2 separate regions of the Homo sapiens genome follow, and region 1 is linked to region 2. The links are contacts of gene promoters, found by promoter capture Hi-C in blood cells and fetal thymus (Javierre and others, 2016). All regions are on one chromosome and are shown on one strand. Each heading gives the region's core, a stretch centred on a gene start or on the middle of the fragment in contact. The rest is flanking DNA. Distances are from core to core; before and after follow the strand shown.

Region 1 (4,632 bases), core at 162-2,661, 280 kb after region 2:
CCTAGAGTGCGGAGGGAGGCGTGCACCTGGGCCCAAGCACGCACTATGTCCATCCTCCTGGCTCTGGCAGCTCCCATCTCCCCTTTAGCAAAGGAGGAGGCACAGGCATGGGGAGGCCCTGTTAGGAAATTTGGCTGTGTGGCTCCAAAGCCCATGATGGGCCCTCTCTGGCAGGTGCCTGAATTTTTAGGCCCCAGGACACCAGAACAGGGCACCGTCTTCATCTTAGGTCTTGACAAAAGACTCAACCTTCCCCAGAGGGAAGGCCGGATGGGGACTGAATCTACCTGCGGATCCACTTAACACTCGTACCTTTTTAAAAAAAATTTTTTTTATTTTTGAGATGGAGTCTCACTCTGTTGCCCAGGTTGGAGTGCAGTGGCGCAATCTCCACTCACCGCAACCTCCATCTCGCAGGTCCAAGCAATTCTCCTCCCTCAGCTTCCAGAGTAACTGGGATTACAGGCGCCCGCCACCACGCCTGGCTAATTTTTGTATTTTTAGTAGAGACGGGGTTTCACCATTTTGGCCAGGCTGGTCTCGAACTCCTGACCTCAGGTGATCCGCCTGCCTCGGCCTCCCAAAGTGCTGGGATTACAGGCATGAACCACCACCACGCCCTGCCAACACTCGTAGCTTTATCATCCCCTTTTACAGACAAGGACACCGATGCACAGAGTGGTTAAGTAACTTGCCCCAGATCACACAGCTCTAGGTGCCCCAGCCAGGCCCTGAATCCAGATCATGTCCATTGTACAGATAGGCCACTCGGTGCCTTGCTGGGCGCTGCGGGCTGTGGGCTGTTGTGTGTGCAATGGGGAGGCCAAGACCAGCCCAGCCCACCAGGCCGGACCCTCGAGTCAAATAAGAAACATGCAAAGATCCAAACGAAGAGCGAATTCATGGAATGAAGCGCAGCTGCATATGCAGCCAGGGTTCCAGCCCCCACGGCCACGTGGAAAGACTGGCTGGCCCGGGTCTTACAGCGCTGAGGGTCGGTCTTCCAGCGCCTTAGGGGCCAGGCGTCCCTCCAAGAAGGCGAGGAAGTAGGCGGAGCTTCTGCCGGCGGACTAATGACGGTACAGAGGCGGGGCCGAAGGGCGGGGACACGTGGAGGGGCGGGGCCATTGGGTAATGGGCGGGGATGCGAGTGGAGGGGCAAAACCATCAGGTAAAAGGACCAATAGAGGTTCAGGAGCGAGTGGGCGGGGCACGCTGTGGGGCGGGATCGGCGGGGGATAGACCAATGGTGGGTAAGAGGCGGGACAGAGGGCGGGGCGCGCGGGGGCTGGGCTGGCGGGAGGCGGGCCAATGGAGGCTCGGGGGCGGGGCCGGCGGGCGGACGGGCGGGGGTGCGGAGGGGGCGGCGGCGGCGGCGGCGAACAAAGAGGCGGCGGGCGCGGGCGGCCGAGCGGAGCCGAGCGCAGCCGAGCCGGGCCGAGCCGGGCCGGGCCGGGCCCAGGAGCGCGCGGATGATGCGGGCGGCCAGGCGGGGGTCGACGGGTCCCTGAAGCCCGCGCCCCGGGCCAGCAAGGGAGCCCCGCGCAGGCCGCGCGCATCCGGAGGCGGCCGGGCCCCGCCATGGCCGGGGTCAGCTACGCGGCGCCCTGGTGGGTGAGCCTCCTGCACCGGCTGCCCCACTTCGACCTGAGCTGGGAGGCCACTAGCAGCCAGTTCCGGCCCGAGGACACCGACTACCAGCAGGTGACATGGGCCTCTCGGGGTCGCGGGGTCAGGGACCCCAGGTCACGGCCCCCTCCTCTCCCAGGGTCACGGCCCCCATCCCCGAGGGCCTAAAGACCCCTCATCCCCCCCTCCAGGGTCACGGCCACCTCCTCCTCGCAGGTACCGGCCTCCTTCCTTCTCGAGGGTCCCTTCTGAGTCCTAGGACCCTTTCTTCCAGGGTCATGGCCTCCTCCTCAAAGGTCTAAATACCCTCCAACCCCCAGTGAGGGTCCACGGCCCCCCTCCCGATTCTGGCCTTCCCTTCTGGTGTCACTAAGGCCCCTGGGTTTCATGGAGCTGCCTCTCCCCACTCCGTGAGCCCCCTTGGCCAGTGGAGGGCCTCTCCACCATCACTGTTGGCGGCCTGGTGCTGTGTCCCAGCAGAGACCCCTCCCCAGATGACCCCCAGGCTCTGAGATCAGAGCGGGTGCCTGAGCACATTGGGTGCAGGCAGGCAGAGACTCCTCGCCCACTCACCCCCGACTGGGGAATCCCACTGCCAGGCTTCCAGTGGGTGAATGGCCTGGGCCGCCGCCAGCCCTCTGTGGCCGGTAATGACCCCCTGCTTGGCGGTCAGGCTGTGGGATGTACACAGGGTGCCGTGTGTGGCCGTGGGAGACCAGGCTGCCTGTAGCCCCCGGGGGAGGGAGGCCCGGCGGCCAGGAAGCACCGTGGGCCTCAGGCAGGGAGGCTGGAAGCGGCTGAGCCCAGGCAGACCTGGGGGGCGGCTGGGGGCCCTTTGCAGCCCTCTCCCAGGGGAGCCCTTAGCCTGGCATCATGCCAGGCCCCAGCACCACCCCCATCGCCAAGCTACTGTCATTTGAGTGCGGGGCAGGGGACCAAGCTGTGGGCATTTCCTTCCTGCCTAGAGATCCGGATTCCAGAAGCCCCGTGACCAGGGTCCCTGGTCACCCGGAGTTTCTCTCTGGACGGATCATGGCAGAGCCCCATGGTGGGGTGGGGATGGCTTTGCTTATCAAAATGGCTTGGGAATCCGGTATTCCGCGGGCAGCCTAGCACCTGGACTCTTCAGAACTGCGTTGTCTGTGGCCTCCCGCATCCAGAGGAGGGAGGCGGAAGTGGAGGAGCAGGGCACCTGGGAGCCCACTGCTCCCAGCCTCGCGCTCACTTGCACCCAGGCCCCCCAGCCGAGCCGATGACGTTTCCTAACAGATGAGGAAGGGGGCGAGGGATCGGCCCAGGCACGCCCAGACACAGCAGGGAGGAGGGAGGCGGAAGGATTGGTATAAAATCTCACGCCTGCGTTCTAGAAGCCCAGCCCTGGGGGACCGTTCAGTGTGGGGGCAATGCACATTCAGGAACTTCTGGAACTTATTCCATGCTGATGGCTTTGCCACTTGTCCCTGGAGGACTCTGTTGAAGCTGCAAGGAGGGTGTGCTTCACTTTGGAAAGTTCTCTGCCCTGAGGGTTTGGCCCATTTGTCAGTTCTTAAGCTCCGGGGCAGCCCTGGGGCGTGGGGGGCGGCTGTTTCCTGCTGCCCCTTGGGCTGCCACCTGCCCGAGCTGCCAGCCACAGTTGGACTTCCTTCCAGCCCTCCGGGGTGCCTGCATTCCCACATTCGAGACAGGCAGTGAGAGGGAGTGAGGGGCGATGATGTCTGCAGCCCACAAGAGCCTCCGGGCAGTAGCCAGGCCCCTCTGCTCAGCCTGACCTGCCTGGCCTCCAGCAGGGTGCTATGGCCCTGGGAGGCCCTGGCTTCTGCCCCCTTTCCTCCCCTGCCCTGCGCTCTGCTCTGCTGTGGGAGGGCTCTGACTCACTCTCTCTCCTGCCTCATCTCCACAGAGCAGAATTAGCCACTGAATAATTCACGATGTGGAAACCGGCCTGCCTCCATCCCCCGCCGCCTCCACTCCCGGCTCTTGGCGAGGGGCTGTGGCGTGAGCTGGTCCTGGCGTGCGTCCTGCCCCTGCCCTTCCAATACTGGTGCTTTTCGGCAACTGCTTGGTGTCTCTGAGCCTTCATTGCCTCATCCTGAATCTGGGCTGGCCGTGCCTCCTGTGTAGGGTCACCCCTGGGAGGCAAGGGCCAGGAGCCCCCTTCCTGGGAGAATGGGCAGTGGGTGGGCCTGGGCTGTGGCAGGCGCCCCTTCCTGCCTCCCCTGGTGAGGAGTTGCTGGCTGTAGTGGGGGGTGGACCCCTCACCCATCCTGACTGAGGGCTCCCTCTTAGCTGTCTCTGTGCTGCCCCAACCTGGGCTGTGCCCTGCTGGGGAGTGGGCATCTGCCCCGTGGTTATGGGGGCGGGGGGATGGAGGGGAGGTGGGGCCTGGGGTTGGGAGTTGGGGGTGTGGCACGGGGGACTGGCCTTTGTCCTTTGCTATTTCTGGCCCCCGTGGTCTGCTGTTGGGAACCCTGGTGAAACCCCCGGAGGGACCAGGGCCAGGTCCTGTTTCAAGGCCCTGCGTGGGACTGCCTGTCACTAGTCACTTTTCCCACAGCCCCAGGAGGTGGGGAGAGTTGTCCATTGTACAGATTAGCAAACTGAGGCTCCGAATCACATAGTGAGTAAGTGGTGGGGCCGCAGCCCTGCTGTAGGTCCCTCGTCCGGCCCCCCGAGGAGCCGGGGTCAGCCTGGAGTCGCAGGCTCCCCGGATTCCCCCACGGCTGCCTTGCCGCTGGGGGTGTGACCGTGGGATTAGAAGCTGATGGGGGCTGAGGGAGCTGTGAGAGGGCAGGGGGTGGAGGGGCATCTGGGGTCGGCTCTGTGCAGCTCCCCAGCCAGTGACTGTCGAGAGGGGCTCCCGTGCTGCCTGAGCATCTGAGTGAATGGGGGGCTGTTGTTCACAGGAGGGATTTGGAGGCCCACAGGAGGCCTGAGACTCCCTGGTGGCCCTGCAGCTGAGCTGGCAGGGCTGGGCCTGAGGCCTCTGGCGTGGCCCGGGGCCAG
Region 2 (4,898 bases), core at 87-2,586:
TGACTGGTCTTGAACTCTTGGGCTCAAGTGATCCTCCTGTCTTGGCCTCCCAAAGTACTGGGAAGAGAGGTGTGAGCCACCGCGCAGGGCCTAGCCATTTTAATATGAAGTTTAGTATACAGTTCAGTGGCATCAAGTACATTCACCATGTTGTACCATCACCACCGTCATCTCCAAAACGTTCTCATCCTCCCAAATTGAAGGTCCGTCCCCGATAAACACTCCCCACTCTCCACCCCAGCCTCTGGGTACCACCTGTTTTATTTATTTATTTAATTTTCGTAGAGATGAGGGCTGGCGTGCGGGGGGTGGTGGTGCTATGTTGGCAAGGCTGGTCTCCAACTCCTAAGCTCAAGCGATCTTCCCACCTCAGCCTCCCAAAGTGCTGGGATAACAGGCGTGATCCACTGGGTTGTTTTCTAGGATGATTAAGACATCCCCCAACCAGTGGTTGTCCTCCACTCCGGCAAAAAACAAGATAGAAGCCACATGCACCCAATGCCCGTCCCGTGAGCACCCGCGCAGAGCGAACCGCTCCGGTCCCTCCGGAGTCAGCCTCGAGCTCCACGCGGCGAGGACCCGCCCCCGCCCCCACGTGACCCGCGCTGTCCCGCGCTGAAGGCGGCGGCCTCGGATGGACTGAACCACTGTGAAAGCCCGAATGGGGGGAAACAGGCAGTGACGGCCGCTAGGGAAGGACTGGGGGTAAGCGATTAAAGAAACTTCCATACATTTTTGTATCGCGCCAGGCAGTCGTCCTTCTAGTCGTGTGGGCCCTCTCTGGCTCGCCCCGAATTCCTTTTCTATTTTGAAGTAGTCTGTCCTTTTGCTCAGTCAGTAGGCGAGTCCAAGTGACAGACACGGACAGGGGGGACTTTAGTAACGTAAACTAAACGGTTTCCCTAGCGAAAGGCTCAGACGCCCTGAGCAATCGCCTGTTGAGTCTCCACTCTTCCAGGGTATTAACTGTTGAGTTAGAGGACATTTTCCTAGCATTCCGGGTACTAAAATCATTTCTTGTCCCCGCCTTCAGCTCCACAAATAGTTCAGTCCCGCCCCGCAGCGTCCGACGGGAAAGGAAAGGGGGAGGACGCCATGTTGGACGGAACCATCTGCTGCCACACATGGGGTGGTCAATGCTCCCATGAGTTTACTGATGCACAGAAACAACCTTGCTGAATGGAATTAAGCACTTTCTTGTCACAAATATATCAGTTTGATGATTTTCGGGCGCGGTCTTGTGGATGCGAGTCCTCTCAGGGTCGTTCGTGAGGCCCCAGGGCGTGGGTGCGCCCCCCGCCCCGCGGCCTTGGTGCGGCCTCCCCGTCGCACGCACATGGCTGGGCTGTAGCCGTCGCGGCGCGCGGTGCGGCCTGGGAGAGTCGGAAGCGCGGCGGCCGCGGAGCCCTGCGAGTAGGCAGCGTTGGGCCCATGCAGGACGCGGAGAACGTGGCGGTGCCCGAGGCGGCCGAGGAGCGCGCCGAGCCCGGCCAGCAGCAGCCGGCCGCCGAGCCGCCGCCAGCCGAGGGGCTGCTGCGGCCCGCGGGGCCCGGCGCTCCGGAGGCCGCGGGGACCGAGGCCTCCAGTGAGGAGGTGGGGATCGCGGAGGCCGGGCCGGAGTCCGAGGTGAGGACCGAGCCGGCGGCCGAGGCAGAGGCGGCCTCCGGCCCGTCCGAGTCGCCCTCGCCGCCGGCCGCCGAGGAGCTGCCCGGGTCGCATGCTGAGCCCCCTGTCCCGGCACAGGGCGAGGCCCCAGGAGAGCAGGCTCGGGACGAGCGCTCCGACAGCCGGGCCCAGGCGGTGTCCGAGGACGCGGGAGGAAACGAGGGCAGAGCGGCCGAGGCCGAACCCCGGGCGCTGGAGAACGGCGACGCGGACGAGCCCTCCTTCAGCGACCCCGAGGACTTCGTGGACGACGTGAGCGAGGAAGGTGAGGGCGCCCGGGGCGGGGCTGGCGAGCGGCGCGGGAGCGTGGCTGGGGTTCCCGAGGTGGGAGATATCGTCGGGCTGTGCCACCGGTTCGTGCAGAAGTTCCAGCGAGGGTGTCCGTGTGTTCCTGAGAAGCCACCGAGGGAGGGGTTCCCGAGTGCCCTGGAAGTGTTCTGAGAGCCCAGCGCCTCCCCTTTTCTTTCCTGAAAAAGGGGACAGGGTGGAGCTCACTTCGGGAGCCAGGCATTTGCATGACAACCAGAAATCTGAGAGGGTGGGAGAGGGCACATGGGGTACTCCGTTATGGCTGGGTGTGCTGTGAGTGTAGCAGCTGGGGGTACGGCAAAAACCGAAGACCCGGTGGCAGGTTTGCGGGTCTACGTGTCCCCAGAGCTGACCAGTCAGACCTCCCAAGGTCTGGATCGGAGGAACAGCTTGTGGCAGAGCCGGTGATTTTGTCCTCCTGCCCCTCAGAATTGTCCATCTCCAGAGACTTCCTTAGTGGGACAGGCACCCTGTGAAATTCCAGTTTGATTTTTCTTTATCTCTTGCGCTAAATCTATAAAGAGAGTTATTTTTCCAGGTTTTAATATTGCCGATAACAGCCAGCTTTGCCTTCATCTCAACCTTGATTGGATTTACAGGCATATTTTTGCTTCCTGTCTCAGAGATTTTTTCCTGAAGCTACTTCTGATGAGAGCTGGTCTCATTTGTTTTTCTTTTGTTTTTTAGCTCTCTTAAGCCTTTAAGTTGGGAACACATCAGCCTCTGCAGATTGGCTAAGTTGATACTAGAGTGAGAAAAATAAAAATACCCTTGCTGATGTAGCCAGCGATACACCAGGACAATTTCGGGAATAACATGGAGTTGCCAATTTATGATTTAAACGTATTTTTAAAAGGCTATCAGAGGGCCGGGCTGGGTGGCTCACGCCTGTAATCCCAGCACTTTGGGAGGCCGAGACGGGTGGATCACGAGGTCACCATCCTGGCTAACACGGTGAAACCCCGTCTCTACTAAAAATAAAAAAAAATTAGCCGGGCGTGGTGGCGGGCACCTGGATTTCCCAGCTACTCTGGAGGCTGAGGCAGGAGAATGGTGTGAACCTGGGAGGCGGAGCTTGCAGTGAGCCGAGATCCTGCCACTGCACTCCATCCTGGGCGACAGAGCAAGACTCCGTCTCAAAAAAAAAAAAAAAAGAAAAAGAAAAAAAGGTTATCAGAAATACAAGTCAGCCAGGTGTGCTGGTGCACACCTGTAGTCTCAGGTACTTGGGAGGCTGAGGCACGAGAATCACTTTAACCCAGGAGGTGGAGGTTGCAGTGAGCCTAGATCCCACCACTGCCTGGGCGACAGAGTGAGACCCTGTCTCAAAAAGTGAAAAATTAAAAAATAAAAACGCTGTCAGTTACTGTGACCATTACTATATTACACTTTTTTTTTTCATAAAAGACATTTTAGCATGAAAAGCAGGAAGGACACCACAAACTAAAGACTTTGGGAACATCTAGTCTACGCCCCTCAGTCCTGAGGAAACTTGTCCCTGAAGGTGGAGTAGGCTGCTGAGAATTCCCAGTGGGTCTATACTGCTTGGCCCACCAGACTCTCCTGCTCAGAACAGTGTTCTTTCTAACGCTTCAATTGTTATTATGGTTTAAAAATCAAAACTTTTGGTTTAATGATTATTTTGAGCCCTTGGATATTCTGCTACTTTTTTAAAAAGCATTATTTGAGCCCATCGAATTCACAGATTTCTAATACGTAGATTACTTCTGGAATTGGGAAGAGTCAGAGGATGCTAATATGACGACAGGGTTGGCCAGGCTGGGTGACGGCTGTGGGTCCTCAGCGGGCCCACGTGGCCCTGAAGGTGCAGTGTTGGCCAGAGTGACAGGTGAGGCATCTGGTCCTGAGGACTAAGGCTCAGGAAGCCGACTTTGTCATGGCCCTCCTGGTTGTGGTAACGCAGGTTTTGTGCTTTATGAGAAGAGCTGCCCTTCAGGGTCATTGTGCAAGACCGTAGGTGACTGTATCAGTTCTTTCCAGAAGGGCCAAGTCTTCCAAGGAGCAGGCCAGAGGTGGCCTGGAGTCCCTGTCTTGCTTTATTACTTTTTTGGTACAGATTAGCTTCTCAAACTGTAATCATCCTTTCAGTTTAATGTTTCAGCTGATCCAGGATTTTAACTCTAAATGTCTTTTTTGGCTCATTAACTATTCTTTCTCTTTCTATTTGCTATTTAGTGTTGAGAATTGTTCTCTTCTGTTTTTCCTGGAGACCGCTTGGGAATCCATGAGCCACGTGTAACCGATGCTTGGGCTGAGAGTGATCAAGGCGTTGTGTCTTCATGGTGTAGTTACTTCATTTATTTCCTTCCTACGTGTGGGCAGTTTCTCCTAGACTAGACGCTTTGAGCTTGTGGGAAGGAGTACCCAATTTGTGTAAAAGTTGAGCTTTTTATTGCAGCCTTATAAATTCAGATCAGGCTTGTCAGGCTATTTAATTGTATGGTAAGTGCTTTAGAAGTTACCCTAGGATTTGACTAGTTTCCATAGCAGGGTGTCCGGCACTGCAGTGACTGGCAACTGCCTTTTTCCCTTTTTTTTTCTCTTGTTCGTCTCAATTTTAGCATCGTTGAAAATAAAACGGCGATTATTTTTTAAGGCAGTATTTTCAATATTTCCTTTTTTTTTTTGAGACAGAGTCTCATTCTCTTGCTCAGACTGGAGTGCAATGGCTCACCGCAGCCTCTGCCTCCCCGCTTCAAGCGATTTTCCTGCCTCAGCCTCCCAAGTAGCTGGGATTATAAGCATGTGCCACCATGCCTGGCTACTTTTTGTATTTTTAATACAGATGGGGTTTTGCCTTGTTGGCCAGGCTGGTCTCGAACTCCTGGCCTCATGTGATTTGCCTTCCTTGGCTTCCAAAAATGCTGGGATTACAGGCGTGAGCCACCATGCTGGGTCAGTTT

What was found. Contacts are between HindIII fragments. The CHiCAGO score rates a contact against its expected background, and 5 or more counts as called.
Region 1: a contact is called between the fragment with the promoter of TTYH3 here and the fragment with the promoter of EIF3B in region 2, in 1 of 17 cell types (neutrophils). The highest score is 6.0, in neutrophils.

What each region holds. Positions count from the first base shown.
Region 1 is chr7:2,630,575-2,635,206 of GRCh38, forward strand. It overlaps TTYH3 (tweety family member 3), which reads left to right and starts at 1,412. Exons shown (of 14, transcript NM_025250.3): 1 at 1,412-1,704. The coding sequence starts at 1,582. RefSeq lists enhancers at 837-1,568, 2,301-3,033, 2,813-2,922, 3,766-4,498 and a silencer at 1,353-1,762. The HindIII fragment of the contact is 11,109 bases long and covers 1-4,632 here.
Region 2 is chr7:2,353,491-2,358,388 of GRCh38, forward strand. It overlaps EIF3B (eukaryotic translation initiation factor 3 subunit B), which reads left to right and starts at 1,337. Exons shown (of 19, transcript NM_001037283.2): 1 at 1,337-1,930. The coding sequence starts at 1,432. It also overlaps a transcript of SNX8 not described here. RefSeq lists enhancers at 128-683, 354-423 and silencers at 1,224-1,363, 1,544-1,633, 1,684-1,793. The HindIII fragment of the contact is 9,918 bases long and covers 1-4,898 here.